Linked DNA regions of Homo sapiens: region 1 is linked to region 2. The links are contacts of gene promoters, found by promoter capture Hi-C in blood cells and fetal thymus (Javierre and others, 2016). All regions are on one chromosome and are shown on one strand. Each heading gives the region's core, a stretch centred on a gene start or on the middle of the fragment in contact. The rest is flanking DNA. Distances are from core to core; before and after follow the strand shown.

Region 1 (7,250 bases), core at 1,960-4,459, 240 kb after region 2:
ATCAACTGGCCAATCAATATTAACTGGGCTCTTACTCTGTGCCCACTATGTACGAGGTCCATCTGCAGATGGAGATAACTAGATTAACAACTATTATGGGAGAAACTGGCTACAAACCCAGCCCATAGGATTCCAAGGGGTTCCCGGGAGGCAGCACAGGGCTAATGGAAAGCTGGACTCACCGATGCAGGCTTTTAAAAGAAAAACTCAAAGTATCTGAGTTTTTTTTTTTTTTTTTTTTTCATGGAGTCTTGCTCTATCGCCAGGCTGGAGTGCAATGGCACAATCTCAGCTCACTGCAACCTCCAACTCCTGGGTTCAAGCTATTCTCCTGCCTCAGCCTCCCGAGTAGCTGGGATTACAGGCACCCGCCATCATGCCCAGCTGATTTTTTTTTTGTATTTTTGTAGAGACGGGGTTTCACCATGTTGGCCAGGCTGGTCTTGAACTCCTGATCGACCTCAAGTGATCCACCTGCCTTGGCCTCCCAAAGTGCTGGGATTACAGGTGTGAGCCACCATGATCTGAGTTTTTTAAAAAAGCCCATGTCTTTATAGTTTACCAGCATTTTTACATGCCTTGTCTCATTTGATTTTTTCAAAGCAACCATTCAAATTGAATGTGAAAAGTATTATTGTCTTGATTTTATAGAAGATAAAATGTCATGCCTGTAATCCCACCACTTTGGGAGGCCGAGGAAGGCAGATCACGAGGTCAGGAGATTGAGACCATCCTGGCTAACATGGTGAAACCCTGTCTCTACTAAAAATACATACAAATTAGCTGGGTGTGGTGGCATGAGCCTGTAGTCCCAGGTACTTGGGAGGCTGAGACAGGAGAATTGCTTGAACCGGGGAAGCAGAGGTTGCAGTGAGCCGAGTTGGCGCCATTGCACTCCAGCCTGGGTGGCAAAGTGAGACTCTGCCAAAAAAAAAAAAAAAAAAAGATAAAACAAAGACTCAGAGAATGAAATACAACTTAGACCTGAATTCAAAAACCAATTCTTGGCATTTCAAAGACATTGCCCTTTATGTCATCATCTTGCTTGGTGGCAGGGTGTACCTGTGTCAGCCAAAAGGGTGATATCACTGAGCTTTTCACTTGGTAAAAAAGGACATCTTCAAGTACTCAGACTTCAGTTAGTTACAACTGAGCCTCAAGTCGCACTGGTTCGAAGTGCTGCAGTGCTTGGATTTCCACCAGATGTCACCATTTGCCATTGTTCTACTCCCTGCCTTTAAAAAGCATTAGCAAAGAAGAGCCCATCTGCTCTTGGGCCCCTGAGAATGCTTATTGCATCTGGGAGTGAGGTGGAGGGCTGTATTCCAAGAAGGGAGCAATGAGCTCTGAATCTTGACTCAGGGAGAAGGAATTTGAAAATGTCATGGCCGGGCGCTGTGGCTCGCACCTGTAATCCCAACACTTTGGGAGGCCGAGGCGGGCGGATCACCTGAGGTCCGGAGTTTGAGACCAGCCTGACCAACATGGAGAGACCCCGTCTCTACTAAAAATACAAAATTAGCCGGGCATGGTGGCACATGCCTGTAATCCCAGCTACTCGGGAGGCTGAGGCAGGAGAATCCCTTGAACTGGGAGGCAGAGGTTGCGGTGAGCCGAGATCGTGCCATTGTACTCCAGCCTGAGAAACAAGAGCGAAACTCCATCTCAAAAACAAAAGAAAAGAAAAGAAAAGAAAATGTCATGAGCTCTCTGGTTCCCGATTTCCTAAAACCCAAAGGCATTATTTCCCCCTCCCCTTGTGATTTCGTGTATCTAAAAACCCAGCCCATTTCTGATGGATAAACCAAGCAGAACTATAACCTGGCTTTTGGCCAAAACAACTTAGAAAAGGAGGAGATTTTCTTTTCTTTTTAGAGATAGGGTCTCACTCCATCACTCAGGCTGGAGTGTAGTGGCATGATCATAGCTCACTGCAGTCTCTAACTCCTGGGCTCAAGCAATCCTCATGCCTCAGCCTCCTGAGTAGCTAGGACTTAGGGGCATGTGCCACTCACCCAGCTAATTTTTAAATTTTCTTGTGGAGACTGGATCTCTCTTTGTTGTCCAGGCTGGCCCCAAACTACTGGCCTCCTAAAGTGCTGGCATTACAGGGATGAGCCACCATGCCTAGCCCTCCAGCTAATTTTTTATAAAGCAGGAGGTTTTGAAGTGAAGACAGAACCAAGGAACGCTGCACCTTCTCTGTGATCAGAAGTAGAAGCCAGCAGGATTTGCATCACGCTGGAGTGTGGTTTCTGAGGAGGGGCTGGAAGTAGCCCTGAACCCCAAGTCTCCCACCTGCTCAGATTTTATATGGTCCAAATTACACTACTCAGGTTCATTCTTGTGGATCTAATATGAGTGTTCCCTGTAGATTTCATGAGCAGGAGTGATGTATGAATTCATTTACATCTAAGTGCATTTGAATTTGAACTTTTGTTTCTTTTTTTAAAGGGAGAAACTAGGCCAGAATGAGAGAATGAGGTTCCTAGGGTATGTCTGTGGATGTTGGCGAAGAGTCCAAGGTGAGGGGTGGGTGAGAGAGAGGGGAGGCAAACTTCTCTTAACTTCTAGTTTGGTCCAGGCTAACGACCAGGGGCCTGAGGGACCCTCCTTTGCCTCCTGTTCCTCACACCCTCCTCACCTTCACTCTGCTTATCTTCAGGGTAGCAAAGAATCCATGTGGGGCAATGGTTGGCCCCCCCAAAGCTTGGACTCCCCACGGGCCAACAAATGATGGGAGATGTGTGGCTTCTCCAAAACTGCAGCTCTGGGAAAGGGGAAGCTTAGAGATCTTAATGATGCTAATAAGTTGGTAAAAATAATCAGGTGCAGGTATTTTTAAGACAAGGCAAAAACAGAAAAAAGGAAGCAATAGTACCTGGATTTTATTTGCTGATCATAAGCTTACTTTTTAATCCAGCAAACTTGTTCTTCAACAAAACTGTCTGTAAAATTAATTGCATGTCCTCCTGATACGATGTTGATGGTAATAATACTTTCTCTTCAAATGAAAACTTCAAAAATATATCCTTCAGAACATGATCCTCTGGGCAAATGGTCACAGATGAAAGCCTTAAATACAACTCACAGAAGCAGAGACAGCAGATTTATTACAGAATTCGGAAATGCAGTGTGACATTGGTAGTATCAACTGCTTTGATCATTTCTTTCAAGTAATGTTTTATTCATTTCATTTGGTCATATTTTGCTCAACTATTTTTATGTAACTTCACACAATCTATATATTTTGTTGATAACTTACAGGTAAAAATATTCATTTATTAGTGTGGGTGTTTATCCGATGACCCACACTGGGTCACGCTGACTCAAGAGAGGACAGAGGGTCACACAAGAACTTCACAGCTTGTGTCCCCTAGGGGCTGAGGGTCTGCTGACTCTAGTTTTGTGGGGCTTATCCACAGATACTTTGCAGAATGTCTGGTGGTGGGAATAGGAGATAAACAGAGAAGATGTGTAGAATTATCTCTGAGGCGTGATTACAAAGCTTGTGGGTGATAGATATAAAAATGCCAGGCCTCAAATATCTAAATCAGGGCTGTCTACTTCAGGTGTCATCGTTGATTTTGGAATCCCATAAGTTGGTTTAAAGTTGCAATCACTCAAAATATGTGCTGGACAACCCCTTAAGATTGTCTTACAACCTAAAGAACAGCTAGGGCTGATTGATCTTTTTTTTTTTTTGGAGACAGGGTCTCACTCTGTTGCCCAGGCTAGAGTGCAGTGGTGTGATCTTGGCTCACTGTAGCCTCTGCCTCCTGGGTTCAGGCAATTCTCCTGCCTCAGCCTCCTGAGTAGCTGGGATTACAGGCATGTGCCACCACACCCAGCTAATTTTTGTATTTTTTAGTAGAGATGGGGTTTCACCATGTTGGCCAGGCTGGGCTCGAACTCCTGACGTCAAGTGATCCACCTGTCTTGGCCTCCCAGAGTGCTGGGATTAGAGGTGTGACCCACTGCGCTCAGCAGGGCTGATGGATCTTGAGACAGAGACCACATCTATACTGGGCCAGATCCTCTCTCCTGGGAATTTGGAATGAGAACATGGAGCCACAGCTATTAGAGGCAGTTTGCTGGTGTTAAACTATCTTCCACAGATTCCTGGTCTGAGGTTCCTGGGCTGCTAGCCTCCTGCCTCCTTGCTATTTCCTTTTGTCTTCTAGTCATATGCAATTTGAACAGACAGTTACAAAAACGTGTTGAGACAATGTCTTGCATATTTTAGTTCATTTCCAGTCTTATTTTGAATAAAAGTTCTTAGAATGATCTATCACTTGAATATAAATCCTTACAATTTTTAGTGTTGAGAATTCGAAATCATATAAGCCAAATATAGTCTTATGGGAAAACATATTTGGTTACATAGTTGATGTCAAATCAAATTACTTTTGTAGTCTGTGATTTGGGTTTCTTTCTTGAATATTTGAATATATTCCAGTTGTCACTATATGGTTTAAACTATTATCCTTTCAACATATTTGCTTCATCTTAAAATTTCATTTTTCAGTCATTTGAAATGCAGGAGCTGTAAAACCATTCTATAGATGTTTCTAAAATAAACTCTTAAGTGACACAAGCTTGATTTGGATCACCTTTTCTCATAGAATGGAAATAAATGGTTTCTAGAGAACCTAGAAAAACAAGTTTACTCCCCGATATGGTTTGGCTGTGTCCCCACCAAAATCTCATCTTGAATTGTAGCTCCCATAATCCCCATATGTCATGGGAGGGACCCGGTGGGAGGTAACTGAATAGTGGGGGTGGGTTTTTCCCATGCTGTTCTCATGATAGTGAATAAGTCTCATGAGATCCGACGGCTTTATAAAGGGCAGTCCCCCTGCACACGCTTTCTTGCCTGCCACCATGTAAGACATGCCTTTGCTCCTCCTTTGCCTTCCACCATGATTGTGAGGGCTCCTCAGCCATGTGGAACTGTGAGTCCATTAAACCTCTTTTTCTTTATATATCAACCAGTCTCGGGTATTTCTTCACAGCAGTATGAAAATGGACTAATACACTCCCTGAGTTTCCCAATATAGTTTATTCACATCTTTATCTTGCAAGAGGGTAAAACTTTAATGTAAATTTTCTAAAACATTTGCAGTGATTCTGTGGCTTTGTGAAGACTGGCTTGATTTCAGCAGGGAAGCCAACATGATTTTATGAGACTTTTGAACAATGGTAATGATACTAGATATATTTTTCTGTAACCATTAAAACCATTTAAAATCTGAGAGTTGTAAAATCAATGAAAAGACAAACAAACCAGTATACTAAAGCTAGCCAGGATTTTTGCAGTATGCTTCTTTGATTTTCATATGGGATATTTTTTGCCATTTAAAATATTCCCCAAAAGGTCAAGATGATTTGTGCAGTTACTGAATGTTTGCTAGACAGCATACACAACAGCTTCCATTGTGGTGTATAAATAGAATATGAAAAGTTTGTTCGTTTGTTATTTAAATTTAAAGGTACATCGTAAGCTCTAGTCTTTGGGATTCTTAAAAACAAATGTATTATGTTAATTTTCAAAATACAAAAAATCTGAGTGACTATCTTCATGAACCCTCATGTCCATCACCCAGTTTCAATAATTAAGAACACATTGTCAAGTCTGCATTATCTCTTACACTCCTACTTTCCTCCTCCCCTGGATTATTTTAAGGCAAATCAAAGACCACATCTCTCTTCTGAAAACCCTTTCAGTACTTCCCACTTCCTCTGCCCCACCCCCCGCGGTTTTTTTTTTTTTTTTTTTTAAACATAACCCCAGTTCCATTGCTGGATATTTTTCAGACAGTCAAGGAGGCATTGGACATGGCCTACAGGTTAAAAAAAATGGGGCCACATTAACTGCAGCAAATAATCTTTTGAGCTTGCCCCAGCTGATCACCGGAGACCCTTCTCCACCTTCCTTGCTTGGGGGCGTCTCAATTGTTTCTAAAACCTCCAGGGTGAATCAGTATCATGTGCCATCGCCCTTTTCACTCTTCCCTGCCTCTCTTTCTTCAGCAATGCCACCTCTGGCTCTTTGCAATATTACATTGACTTTTTTCAAGCCAATGTATATCTGAAAAGCACAAATACACATTATGCTTTCTTTCGGGTATGTGTACATAGAGGTTTTTAAAAGGATGTGTGTGTGTGTGTATATATATATATGTATATATATATGCATCCATTTCTGATATAAAGAATGCTTTATTTTTTATTTATAGTCACCAGAGTTTTCTAATTATGACCTCTCCTGCGGGCCTTACTGCAGTGAGATACTAGCCTGTTTCATTGATAGAATGGTTTTCAATTTTTCCTGTTCAGATTCTTAATCAGAATTGTAAGTGGAGTGTACAGGTGCTCAGATTAGAGCCCAGTGGATGGTGTGGTGAAGGCTGCCAGTGTAATCCCAAACGCTGGGACTACAGACGTGAGCCACCACATCTAGCCGCCATTTACTTTTAAGTTGATCACCATTTCATTTTTTACTTTGAAAGGCATTAGCTGGTATCTTAGGTGCTTAATTAATGTAAGGGATTGTCCAAGTTAGCTATATAAGAATAGTCTCTGGGATGATAATAAGTACCTTTTATGACAAGATGAAACACTATTTTATTTTATTTTTTTATTTTTATTTCTAATTCACACATAATAATTGCATATATTTATGGGGTACAATGTGATGTTTTAATATTTGTATACATGGTAGAAACCTTAAATAAAGCTAACATATCCATCATCTCATCTATTTTTTTTTTGTGATGAGACAGTTAAAAATTTGCTTTTTGCAACTTTGAAATATACATGATTACAAGCTAAGTATTCCTTAAACAAAATGTTTGGAACCAGAAGTGTTTTGGATTTCAGATTTTTTTCAGCTTTTGGAATATTTGCATTATATTTACTGGCTTGGCATCCCGAATCTAAAAATCCAAATCTGAAATGCTCCAATGAGCATTCCTTTTGAATGTCATATCTGCACTTAAAAAGTTTCAGATTTTGGAGCATTTTGCATTTTGGACTTTCAGATTAGGGATGCTCAAGCTGTGTTAACTACAGTCACCATACTGTAGAATAGATCACTAAAATTTATTTCTCTCATCTCACTGATACTTTGTGCCCTTTGACCAACATCTTCCCTTTCTCCATCCCCCCTCTTTTTTTGTTCTTAATATCACATGGATTGTCCTGGGTTCTGTGAGCTTAGAGGCTGAATAATTGAAGACCTTTTTTCA
Region 2 (7,772 bases), core at 2,091-4,590:
TGCAAAGAGCAAAAGAACAAAGCTTCCACAGTGTGTAACGGGACCCGAGTGGGTTGCCACTGCTGGCTCAGGCAGCCTGCTTTTATTCCCTTATCTGGCCCCATCCACATCCTGCTGATTGGTCCATTTTACAGAGAGCTGACTGGTCCATTTTGACAGGGTGCTGACTGGTGCATTTACAATCCCTGAGCTAGACACAAAAGTTCTCCAAGTCCCCACTAGATTAGCTAGACACAGAGCGCTGATTGGTGCATTTACAAACCTTGAGCTAGACACAGGGTGCTGATTGGTGTGTTTAACAAACCTTGAGCTAGACACAGAGTGCTGATTGGTGTTATTTACAATCCCTTAGCTAGACATAAATATTCTCCACGTCCCCACCAGATTAGCTAGATACAGAGTGCTGATTGGTGCATTTACAAACCTTGAGCTAGACACAGAGTGCTGATTGGTGTATTTACAATCCTTTAGCTAGACATAAAGGTTCTTCAAGTCCCCACCAGATTAGCTAGATACAGAGCGCTGATTGGTGCATTTACAAACCTTGAGCTAGACACAGGGTGCTGATTGGTGTGTGTACAATCCTCTAGCTAGACATAAAAGTTCTTCAAGTCCCCACTAGACTCAGGAGCCCAGCTGGCTTCACCTAGTGGATCCTGCACTGGGGCCGCAGGCAGAGCTACTTGCCAGTCCCACGCCGTGGGCCTGCACTCCTCAGCCCTTGGGCGGTCGATGGGACCAGGTGCCGCGGAGCAAAGGGAGGTGCTGGTCAGGGAGGCTTGGGCCACGCAGGAGCCCACGGCGGGGGCGGGGGAGGCTCAGGTATGGCGGGCTGCAGGTCCTGAGCCCTGCCCCGCGGGGAGGCGGCTGAGGCCCGGGGAGAATTCCAGCGCAGTGAGGGCGGGCCCACAGTGCCGGGGGACCTGGTGCCCCCTCCGCAGCTGCTGGCCCAGGTGCTAAGCCCGCCGAGCCCACGCCCACCCGGAACTTGCTCTGGCCCCGGTTCCCACGGACACCTCTCCCTCCACACCTTTCTGCAAGCAGAGGGAGCTGGCTCTGGCCTGCGCCAGCACAGAGTGGCTCCCACAGTGCAGCGGCGGGCCGAAGGGCTCCTCAAGTGTGGCCAGAGCAGACACCGAGGCCGAGGAGGTGCTGAGAATGAGCGAGGACTGCTAGCGCGTTGTTATCTCTCAATGAGAGTGCAGTAGTGAGGATGACCAGAGTTCACTCTCATTGCCATCTTAGTTTTGGTGGGTTTTGGCCGGCTTCTTTACTGCATCCTGTTTTATCAGCAAGATCTTTATAAGCTATATTTTGCGCTGACGTTCTATCTCATCCTGTGACTTAGAATGCCTTAACCGTCTGGGAATGCAGCCCAATAGGTTTCAGCCTTACTTTACTCAGCCCCTATTTAAGATGGAGTTGCTCTGGTTCACACGCCTCTGACACTGGTTACCGTGTGAAAGAAATGGAGTGTTGTTTTTTTTACAGCTTTCTTCCGAACCTTACTCTCTAAGGATGGTATCCAGTATGTCCTTTTTTTTTTCAGATGGAGTCCTGCTCTGTTGCCCAGGCTGGAGTGCAGTGGTACTATCTTGGCTCACTGCAAGCTCCGCCTCCTGGGTTCATGCCATTCTCCTGCCTTAGCCTCCCGAGTAGCTGGGACTACAGGCAACCACCACCACACCCAGCTAATTTTTTTTTTTTTTTGTATTGTTAGTAGAGACGGGTTTTCACCGTGTGAGCCAGGATGGTCTCAATCTCCTGACCTCGTGATCCGCCCACCTCGGCCTCCCAAAGTGCTGGGATTACAGGTTTGAGCCACTGCGCCCGGCCTCCAGTATGTCCTTCACTGAATTGTAAACTTCTGAAGGTCAGGGCATTTTGGCTTTAAGTGTTTCTATCTTGTGCTCTCTTCCAGATCTTACCATGTAGTTGATATGCAACACATTTGTTGAGTAACTACATTTTAGGCCATAAAGGCACCTGTGCAGAAAAGGGCAGTCTAGTCTCATGCTTATGTGTCCAGAGTTGGTTCCTTCCGGTGGGTTCATGGTCTCGCTGACTTCAAGAATAAAGCTTGTCACCTTCGTGGTGAGTGTTACAGTTTTTTTTTTTTTTTTTTTTTTTTTTTGAGACAAGGTCTCTCTCTGTCTCCCAGGCTGGAGTGCAGTGACGCGATCTCAGGTCACTACAAGCTCTGCCTCTCAGGTTCACGCCATTCCCCTGCCTCAGCCTCCCAAGTAGCTTGGACTACACGACCGGCCAATTTTTTTTTTTTGTATTTTTAGTAGAGACGAGGTCTCACCGTGTTAAGGCAGGATGGTCTCGATCACCTGACCTCCTGATCCACCCGCCTCGGCCTCCCAAAGTGCTGGGAGTGTTACAGCTCTTAAAGGTCCCACAGACCCAAAGAGTGAGCAGCAGCAGCAAGATTTATTGTGAAGAGTGAAAGAACAAACTTTCCACAGTGTGGAAGGGGACCCAGGGCTGCCACTGCCAGCTAGGGGATGGGGGGCGTGGCCAGCTTTTATTTCCTTATTTGTCCCGGCCCAAGTCCTGCGGATTGGTCCACTTTACAGAACACTGATTAGCCCGTTTTACAGGGTACTGATTGGTGCATTTTACAAACCTCTAGCTAGCCACAAAGTGCTGATTGGTGCATTTTACAATCCTAGCTACAGAGTGCTGTTGGTACATTTTACAATCCTCTTGTAAGACAGAAAAGTTCTCCAAGTCCCCAACCGACCCAGAAGACCAGCTGGCTTTACCTCTCACTTAAACCTGTACTGTGTCAATATCCGTACATCAGTAAGTGTTGTCGATCAAGTTAGGGAAGTAGTGGATTTCTGGTGACAAATGTTACCCTTTCCAACTAAAGTTTAAAGAAGGTAAGTTGAACCCAAATCTACATACTGCTGTAGCCCCAAACGGAAATACTGCAAAAGCTCCATCAACGTCTCCCAGTCCATCCAGACTTTTACAAATGGATAGACCCCGGCCGCAGGAAACCAAGGAGCACCTGGGGTTGGGTTGGGTGAATTGGCTCTGGGGCTCATTCTTTTCACTACAGCGCCAGAAAAGCAAAAACCTAAACCAAGACCCAAGAGACCAGCCCTCAGCCTGCACCTGAGAGCACATTTTCCCTAGCCAGCACTGAGCATGCGCAGGCTGCGTGGTGTGGCGAAAGCGCAGCCAGGTCCGCGCTGCCGCCGCAGCCAATCGGAGGGAGGGAGCCGCCCGGACATTGTGAGGTGCCGAGGGAGGGGCGGCGGGCGAGGGGCAGGGCAGGGCGGACCCTGGACGCGCGGGCGCGCGCGGAAGGTAGCGCGGGGCCGCGTTGGCGCGCACGCGCCTGAGCGTGCGCCCGGTGGGGCCGGCCGGGACTCGCCGCTCGCACGCCCTTGGGCCGCGGCCGGGCGCCCGCTCTTCCTTCCGCTTGCGCTGTGAGCTGAGGCGGTGTATGTGCGGCAATAACATGTCAACCCCGCTGCCCGCCATCGTGCCCGCCGCCCGGAAGGCCACCGCTGCGGTGAGTGGCGTAGGCGTGGGCTCGGAGGGGTCCACTGGGCCGGCCACCGGTGGTTGCCCCTCGCGCGGGGTGGGCGTTGCGGGCGCGTGGCGGCCTGCGGACGAGGACGCTCCTCCCGGCCCGGGTGGGGTGCGAATGGTCCGCGCGGCCGGGTCCGCGGGGGGCGGGGGCAGCCGGGGGGTCACAGCCGGCGCGAGGGCCAGTCCCCAGCTCCTCCCTGCATTGCGGAGGAAGTGTGGCCCCGGGACCCCCGCGGGCCGGCCTAGGGCACGGCGTCAGCCTCTGCAGCGTGTTTCTGCCTGGTGTGTGGGTGAGGGAAACCTAAGTCCGCCAGGAAATCGCCTTATTGTCACCTCGCACTCTTATCCTCAATGAAAGAAGTTTGAAGATTGAGTGTCCTACAAGGTCAGACGTACTGTTTTTTAGAAAACTCGTGTATGAAAAGTCAAACTTATTTTTGCCTCCGGAAGCTTGCTTTTGCAGTGGAAAAATTCTACAGGATATGTGAGATGTTCCTGATTTCACTTGAAAGAGATAAACTGTTTTTCTTAGAATGTGATCATTTGCACTCAATGTCTAACTGGGACCTCTCAGTGCTACCCCCCCCCCATTCATTATCTCAGGAAATAAAGGGAGAAGTTGATCAGAATTTTTGCCATTTAAAAGAGGTCGATAAAGATTAAGTCGCCGAAGATAGTGTTGTGTAATTCTCTCGTAGGTTTCGTTCCGTTTTCCACCTTAAGCAAAGCTAGTGTGTAACAATCCTGTGTGGGCTTATTTAGGCATTGCTTATTAATTTTCCTCTTCTCTTATAGGTGATTTTCCTGCATGGATTGGGAGATACTGGGTAGGTACCATTATTATTAATAGTAACAGTAATGAAACTGGGTCATGCAACTTTTGTTTACGCGTTCAAAGGTTTAATGTTTAAGGGCGCTAAAATGGTATTTTAAGATTGCCAGTTAATGTATCTTACAGTGCGGTGATTTTATGTTTTGAAAACCCTCAGAATTTTCCCCTTATCATCGTGAGTTTATTGATTTTTTAACTCTGGTTTCTGGAACATATTAAAATTTCAAATTCCTCATTAGTTGCTTTGGGTATTGGATACCAGAGATCCGTGGAATGTTAGTAGGGACGGTGTGCAATTGAGAGCTTTCCAGAGCAGTTAAAATTTCAGAGCAGATTGAAGAGAAGAACTAGTTGATTTTGATAAGAGAACTAGTGGCAACATAAGGCATGCAGCATTCTGAATAGAGGGATTAGATGTTCACTCTAATGAGTTGAAAGGCAGGGGAGGCAACTCAAAGATTTATTTGGAGGCTTATCAAACAATTTGTTGTACTAACTACTTATTTTTATTTTATTTTTTGTTTGTTTGCTTTTTTCTTTTGTTATTATTTTTAGAGACAAGGGCTCTCTCTGTCGCCCAGGCTGGAGTGCAGTTGCAGGATCTTAGCTCACTGCAGCTTTGAACTCCTGGGCTCAAGTGATCCTTCAGCCTCAGCCTCTCAAAGCACAGAGATTAGAGGTGGGAGCTGCCTGAGCCTGGCCTTTTGTACTAACTTTAGATACATGATTTATCTTTTACTCAAGCTTTTTCTATATTGAGATGTTTTTGTTTTTATATTTAAATTGGTGATAATCTGTGAAACTTAAGCAAAATATGAATGTTGTTGAAAAATTGCAGAAATAGAGGAAAACTGAAGATAAATAAATTTTGATAAAGTAGCCCCAGAACGACTAAATTTTCTTTAAAATGAACCATTGGGGCCGGGCGCGGTGGCTCACACCTGTAATCCCAGCACTTTGGGAGGCCGAGGTGGGTAGTTCACTTGATGTCAAGAGTTCGACACCAGCTTGGCCAATATGGTGAAACCCCATCTCTACTAAAAATATAAAAATTACCCGGGTGTGGTGGTGCATGCCTGTAATCCCAGCTGCTAGGGAGGCTGAGAGAAGAGAATCACTTGAACCTGGGAGGCAGAGGCTTCAGTGAGCCAAGATTGCACGACTGCACTCCAGCCTGGGCCACAGAGTGAGACTCAAAAAAAAAAAAAATGCCATTAGGCTAGATTTTTGTTTGTTTGTTTGGAGACAGGGTCTGCTGTGTTGCCCTGGCTGGAGGGCAGTGGCGTGATCTTGACTCACTGCAACCTCCACCTTCTGGGTTCCTGGGTCTCCCGAGTAGCTGGGACTACAGTTGCTTGCCACCATGCCAGCTAATTTTTGTATTTTTAGTAGAGACAGAGTTTTGCCATGTTGGTTACGCTGGTCTCGAACTCCTGACCTCAAATGATCCACCCACCTGAGCCTCCCAAAGTGCTGGGATTACAGGCGTGAGCCACCACTTAAAAGTGATTCCTATTTTTTGCCTAATAAGTCGAGTTATGTAATACAAACTTTGTATGGAGTTACAGAAAAGGTTGCAGCACTCTTTCTGGCAATCCAGTGGTCCTGTGAAAATGATGAACTTATTTTACCAAATGAAACTCGAATAGCAGAATCTCTATTTTATGGCCAAACCTTTCTTGATGTTGCAAGTCAGGGAGAAGGTTGCTATCCTCTAACTTTGCCAATAATGAGCACTTCTATGCCTGAATGATTAGTTCAAGCAAAAAAAAAAAAACTTCAGTCTAGGCAGATTCCACAGACTGAAGCTAAAAGTAAAAATGGTGAAGACTATTAGGATCAAAAATACCAAGAACATCCATTACATCTTGACCAAAAGTTAAGTTTATATTAAAAAAGTATCCTTCTTTTTAACCTGTTGTGATAAAAGAAAAAACAAAGGTCTCCAGTTCTGAAATTATTTGGTGGGATAATGCTAAGGAAAGGCTGACTCTAGATTGGTTCCATGAGTGCATGATGAAACTTCGAACCTGTCAGCCTGACAAGTGGCAATTTAATACTTAAGATATTGTAGTCTCCCCTTACCTGCAGTTTTGCTTCCCATGGTTTCAGTTACCCGTGGTTAACTGTGGTTTGAAAATACTAAATGAAAAATTCCAGAAATACTTTATAAGTTTAAAATTGTACACCATTCTTTTTTATTTATTTTATTATTATTTTTTGAGATGGAGTCTCACTCTGTCACCCAGGCTGGAGTGCAGTGGCACGATCTCGGCTCCCTTCAACCTCTGCCACTCGGGTTCAAGTGATTCTTGTGCCTCGGCCTCCGGCGTAGCTGAGATTACAGGCGCGTGCTACCACGTCCAGCTAATTTTTTTGTATTTTTAGTAGAGATGGGGTTTTGCCATGTTGGCCAGGGTGGTCTTGAACTCCTGACCTCTAGTGATCCACCCACCTCGGCCTCCCGCAGTGCTGGGATTACAGGCATGAGCCACCATGCCTGGCCTGAATTGTACACCATTCTGAGTATTGTGATGAAATCTCATTCCGTCTCACCCAGGACACGAATCATTCCTTTACCTAGCGTATCCATGCTATATCCATTCACCATCTGTTAGTCACTTGGTAGCCATCTGGGTTATCAGGTCAACTGTTTTGGTATTGTTTTGCTTTTTTTTTTGAGACAGAGTCTTGCTCTGTCACCCAGGCTGGAATGCAGTGACACAATCATGGCTCACTGCAACCTCCACTCTCCAGGTTCAAGCAACTCTCCTGCCTCAGCCTCCTGAGTAGCTGGGACTACAGGCGTGCACCACCACACCCGGCTAATTTTTGTATTTTTAGTAGAGACGGGGTTTCATCATGTTGGCCAGGCCAGTCTGGAACTCTTGACCTCAAGCGATCTGCCCGCCTTGGCCTCCCAAAGTGCTGGGAATACAGGCATGAGCCACCTCGCCCAGCCTGTAGTGCTTTTATCCAAATAAGCCTTACATTGCTTAATGATGGCCCCAAAGTGCAAGAGAAGTGATGTTGTCATATTGTTATAATTGTTTTATTATTGTTAATCTCTTCCTATGTCTAATTTACACAATAAACTTTATCACAAGCATTATGTATAGGAAAAAACATAGTATATATAGGGTTTGGTGTTATCCATGGATTCAGGCATCCACTAGGGGTTTTAGAGCATCCCCCACTGTTTATTTCTGGAATTTTCCATGTAATATTTTCGAACCACAGTTGACTGTGGGCAGCTGAAACCATGGAAAACAAAACTGTGGGTGAGAAGGACTAGGGTATTTTAAACATTATATAATCACAGAAAAGTTATCCCATTAAATTTAACATTTAGTATTATCTAATATATTATGCATTCAACCTTTGCCAG

Evidence for each region. The method cuts DNA at HindIII sites, captures the fragments that hold promoters and counts their contacts. A CHiCAGO score of 5 or more calls a contact.
Region 1: a contact is called between a fragment that was not itself captured here and the fragment with the promoter of LYPLA1 in region 2, in 1 of 17 cell types (M0 macrophages). The highest score is 5.5, in M0 macrophages.

What each region holds. Positions count from the first base shown.
Region 1 is chr8:53,857,423-53,864,672 of GRCh38, reverse strand. It overlaps a transcript of RGS20 not described here. Among named protein-coding and RNA genes, the nearest start is that of ATP6V1H, 18 kb to the right of the region's middle. The HindIII fragment of the contact is 602 bases long and covers 2,909-3,510 here.
Region 2 is chr8:54,097,515-54,105,286 of GRCh38, reverse strand. It overlaps LYPLA1 (lysophospholipase 1), which reads left to right and starts at 3,340. Exons shown (of 9, transcript NM_006330.4): 1 at 3,340-3,532; 2 at 4,348-4,379. The coding sequence starts at 3,464. LYPLA1-TCEA1 (LYPLA1-TCEA1 readthrough) reads left to right here and starts at 3,340. Exons shown (of 21, transcript NM_001425842.1): 1 at 3,340-3,532; 2 at 4,348-4,379. RefSeq lists a silencer at 3,217-3,786. The HindIII fragment of the contact is 1,923 bases long and covers 2,082-4,004 here.